Regions from separate parts of the Homo sapiens genome. Here region 2 is linked to region 1. The links are contacts of gene promoters, found by promoter capture Hi-C in blood cells and fetal thymus (Javierre and others, 2016). All regions are on one chromosome and are shown on one strand. Each heading gives the region's core, a stretch centred on a gene start or on the middle of the fragment in contact. The rest is flanking DNA. Distances are from core to core; before and after follow the strand shown.

The links. Contacts are between HindIII fragments. The CHiCAGO score rates a contact against its expected background, and 5 or more counts as called.
Region 2: a contact is called between a fragment that was not itself captured here and the fragment with the promoter of GNPDA2 in region 1, in 1 of 17 cell types (M1 macrophages). The highest score is 7.0, in M1 macrophages.

Annotation. Positions count from the first base shown.
Region 1 is chr4:44,725,292-44,727,842 of GRCh38, forward strand. GNPDA2 (glucosamine-6-phosphate deaminase 2) reads right to left here and starts at 1,265. Exons shown (of 7, transcript NM_138335.3): 1 at 1,183-1,265. RefSeq lists a silencer at 681-975 and an enhancer at 1,468-1,597. The HindIII fragment of the contact is 3,169 bases long and covers 1-2,482 here.
Region 2 is chr4:47,386,888-47,389,438 of GRCh38, forward strand. The region is part of intron 5 of GABRB1 (gamma-aminobutyric acid type A receptor subunit beta1); the gene reads left to right. Among named protein-coding and RNA genes, the nearest start is that of COMMD8, 76 kb to the right of the region's middle. The HindIII fragment of the contact is 4,382 bases long and covers 1-2,551 here.

The DNA of each region.
Region 1 (2,551 bases), core at 15-2,514:
AAAAGTGGCCCGGGGAGCTGGCTTTAAAACTAAGTGTTTCTGACTCAAAGAGACATTAGCCAAAGATGTCTTACCGGTTGAGAATCACTTACGATGCTAGTTAAAAATACAGATTCTCAGGTCCCTCTCCCTAGACACAGTGTTTCAAAAGATCTGAAATGAAGTCCAAGGAATCTCTGCTTTTGCAAATTATCACAGGGGATATTCATAATCAGGTGAAATTTGTTAAGAACACCACACATCTCACTGAAACGAAGTTTAAGCAAGTCTCTCAGACCAAGGTACAGGCAACTTTTTGTTTTCTTAAACTCTCTGGAGGGCGCAGAGTCACCTCCAAAAGTCCCAAATGAATCCCTTCACCCAGAGCAAAGAAGAATTTCTTCACCACATTTAAGTTTTTAAGATTTGACTTTTCCAGTTTTTGCCAATCCTCAGAGATCCAAACTATTGTCGCCTTATGCAATTCTCTGGCATCACAAGACAGCATCAAAAAACAACAGAGCACCACCCTTTCCCTCGTCTTCCTTCAGGTGCTGATTCATTTTGGATGTGCATCGCTAGGAAAAAGGGCTGCTGAATATAAATCGCAAAACTTCAATGGTGGATGACAACTTCTACACCCGTGAAGTTACACAGCTAGTTAATGGCGGGGCCAAGACCAGAATCTACACTTGCAGAACCTCTGCTCTGAGCTTTTCCCTACTCAACCTGACCTGTCCTGAAAGCGTAAGGGTGGCCTGGCCGCGCGTGTGGGACCGACCCGAGGAGGGACGAGAGACAGCAAAGAAGGCTGTGGTTCCTGCCCGGGAGGCGGGGGCTGCAGATTCCCCTCAGCTGCGCGTTTGCCTGGCCCTCACTTGGCAAAGGACAGCGAATGCAAATGAGGATGACTGTTAGGAATTTTTAACGAGTGTAGAGAGAGGTGTCAAGAAGAAGCCGCGAGAGAGGAGAGGGCAGGGACGCCTTCTCCCGTAGGCACAAATCCGGAGAGGACAACCAGGTCCGCGAGTGGCAATACGGGAGACCCCACGCGCCCCCAGCCTCGAGGTTCCTGAGCACCCATTCCGCCCCGGCCCGGCGTCCCAGTCTCAGCACAAAGGCCGCACAGGGCGAAGTTGCCGTCGGGTCCCCCGACCCGAGTCCCCTTCTTGGCGCCCCCGCCGCACCCCCCGCTAAACTTACCGGCAGACCCAATGGTTCTTCGATGCTGGAACAGCGGGAACAAGCAACACCCAACCACCCGAGAGCGACCCCAGCTGACCAGTGGAGCGCGAATCCCACGGACCCGGATGCAGATAAAGGCGCAGGAAGGAACCGCGGCGTGGCTGGCGGGCGCTGCGCATGCGCACCGCCTTTAGGACGCCTGAGGTGAGACGCGAGGAGTTCGGTCCGAGTGCGGTGCGGCTGGGCGCTCTTCTTGCCTGGAAGATCGCAGTTTCTGGGTCATCACTTTACGCTACTTTCCCCTCCCCCCCATCTTTCAAAGAGGGATTTGCAGTAGATTCTTTAGGCTTATGAGATTTAGTATGTAAGACCGTAGTGCTCACACGTACTTTGTTGCTTATGTTGCTGTTTGGCAACATGAATATATTTGCCATTTATGAATACATTTCTCTCTCTACTCCAAGCTATTGAATGCATATTTGCAAACGCAATGACAGATAAGCGTCTTGTGTCAAAAAACTCATCAAAGTTTGCAAAAGGGCAAACAGTACCATGGGAAATCGGGAGCGTCTCAGTAAGAGAAAACACTATATAATAGGGTACTGGCTTTTGCTGAATGAGTCTAAGAAAGGGATAGGGGAAGCTGGAATCAGCTTTGAGCTGGGTATCACAGATGTTTATACAGGAGTGGGAAGGAATTGGGCTGTGGAAATTATTGTAAAGAAAGCAGCTATCATTCAAAAGGAGAAAAGTGTGTTGTGTCTTCACCATGTTCCATCAGGAACACTGTTCCATTAATAACACCGTTTAGGGTTCTGTTAGGAACAATACAATCTTGACTCCTAGCCAACTTAAGGTTCTGTTTCTGTGGAAACTACAAGTTAAAAAAATGTAAAACGCTGTGTCCTCAAACTCGTTATATGAAGTTTTTCACCTGGGTTGTAAATCCAGCCTGCTTCTTTGAATGTAATGACTCCTCTTGCATCCTTTAGTGAAGAGTAGGATGTTACATTCTCGTTGATTTAGCTTCAAACAGCAACATTGCTCACATACTGATAATAGACAGGTTTATTAGTACTATCGCCTTCAGTAAGTTTGCAAAAGCGATTTTTGGCCAGATTCGGTGACTCACGCCTGTAATCCCAGCACTTTCAGAGGTCATGGTGCATGGATGGCTTGAACCCAGGAGTTGGAGACCAGCCTGGGCAACATAGCAAGACCCTGTCTCTCCAAAAAAGATTGAGGTAAAATGATGAAGTAGTTTGTAGGCTATGCATAGAATTTAGGCTTTGTATTGTAGGCAATAGGGAGTCACTTAAGCTTTATGAATTGAAGATAAGAGACTAGAACATACGTGTTTTAGAAAGAATGCTGTAGAAAGGTGGAG
Region 2 (2,551 bases), core at 20-2,519, 2.7 Mb after region 1:
TAGGCTGCAAAATCAATCAAGAAAAATATGAGAAACATAGAGATATAGACGAAAGGCTAAACAATTAGGAAAATATTAAATGGATAAATGATGGTGTCACCCCACAAAGTGCTGATTAAAGACCTGATTCATCCTACAGGAATATTACCAGGGAAATCTTACAGGGCTCTGTCTTTGTCTCTGCCAGTCCACATTTGTCTCAATCAAGGGAATAATGATAAAAGGCATGTTTTTCAAATTTGCAGATAACATGAAACTAAGAGGTTGAGCAAATCAGCATCCAGAAACAAAAATAGCCCAGGCACAGTGACTCATGACTGTAATCCCACTTTGGGAGGCCAAGACGGGTGGATCACCTGAGGTCAGAATTCAAGACCAGCCTGGTCAACATGAAGAAACCCCATCTCTGCTAAAAATATAAAAATTAGATGGCCTAATTTTTTTTATGGTGTTATGCACTTGTAATCCCAGCTACTCTGGAGGCTGAGGCAGGAGAATCACTTGAACCTGGGAGGTAGAGGTTGCAATAAGCCAAGATTGTGCCACTGCACTCCAGCCTGGGCCACAGAGTGAGACTCCATCTCAAAAAGCAAAAACTCAATAGGCTAAAATAGTAAGTCAAATTGAATTAGATAAAATTATCAAACTGGCTCGATACAATTAAATGGGAACAATATTAGTTCTTATGTGTGAGTCCAAAAGAAAGTAAAAACCATTTGATTGTGGAAAAAGCGAATTTGAACTTGTGCTGCTTTAATGGAAGACCAGTGACTAGACTTTGCTAGCCAGTCACTCCAAGAATGTCATGACTTGGGCAGGCATGGGGGGATCTCATCCACATGGGACCAGAAAAATGGTAGAGGAGGTCAGAACAGGGTTGTATAGAGGCTTAACCCCAGCTGAATAGCCCAGATGGATGCCTATCACATGCAGTTCAACCTGGCAGGCAATTTCATCTTGAGAAATTACAGGTAGACAGCCAATTTAAAAGTCAGGAAGGGCCACAATCAGGGTCAGGAGATCTAATGGTGGCAGCAGAATTTCTATCAGTGGGAAATTTAAGAGGAGTTGGACATATTCCAAATAAATAAAGCTCGGAAGGAGATCTTGGCCGTTGCACTAGAGTCCCATTGGTGTCAAAGGTTCAGCCATATAGCCAACACGCATTATAGGCAAAGTGTCTACATCTACAAATTAATCAAGGGTCTTAAACGGATTATTGGCTCCAAAATACATAAAGAATATTACAATATTAAAATTAGTATAACATGTTAACAAATAAGCTGCAATTAAATGTTTTATAGTGATATGTAAATTATGTTTAACATGGAATGTGAATACATTTTAATGTATTTGATATAATGCCTGGAGTCTAAATGCCTTTAAATGGGTATGGTCTAGTGTAGACAAGGATTAATAGACTAGGCAGTGTAAACAGTCAGATATGAAGAAACCGGGCTCTAGAAAAGTCACTCTGGGAATTTACATATTGTCCAAACATAGAAAATGCCAGGGTCGAAATGGAGTAGGGAGAAGCCTGAGTATCCTGACCTTGCTTTAGGTGTGTTAGGTCCTAGATCTGGTTGGAAGTAATGGGGCTTTCCAGAGGATGCTAAAGAAATCAGAAAACATGGTTGGATTCTATGATCGCAAATCTGGGGATACGTCCAAATCTGCTGCTGCTTAATTCTTATGTCAATCAAGAGTGGCTCCATAACAAGGGCAGAATTAACCTTGGGGACAGGTCTGTGCAATAGAGAAAGAAGACAGATAACCCAAAAAGTGGTAAAAGAAACAAGGTAGACATGACTACCCCTAAGTTTAGGGCTGCATACTTCATGGGACATGTAAGCAAACTGGAAACTGTGAGCAGAAAAAAGTTCCTAAGACTGAGCATACCCTGGGAAGGACCAGAGCCTGGAGAATAAAAGAAAGGGAGCATGAAAAGTGTTCTCAAAGATGGGAGGTGTTATTATGTTAAAAAAAGAAAAAAAGGATTGGGTTTGTTTTCTGTTAACACAGAGGTGGGCAAGGATGTCATGGTGGATACTCTCCAAGAAGATGAATTTTTACTTATGATAGAACATGTTTTCTAATGATTATTATCAGAAACACACTCACCCATCCAAACCCAAAGAATGGACTTAGAGGTATGAAGAACAGTGAAAGTGAGACTTTTTAATAATGGCTTTGCAAGATTGGGTGTTTGGTGGGCAGGCACACTTGGGGAAGTCACATCAAGTAATTTATCTCTTACACAAAGTTCCTCCCCCAGTTCCTCATTGGTTGAGTACTGTGGGGTTACAATTTTCCTGGACATCACCTAAGTTTCATTATCCCCTTATAAGGTTATCCCCATCCCCTTCCCTGCTTAAGATTTGATTTCTCAATAACAAAACTGTCTTCCCTTTTATGGGCTGACCCTTCCTCTGCATTCTGTTCTCTTATTGTGACCTTCTAGGTGCATGAGCTGTAAGGTTTGTTTCATTTGCAAGCGGGCTGCCAGTGCTTAGATTTATCATGCCTTGAAAATGGACCGTTGAAAATGTTC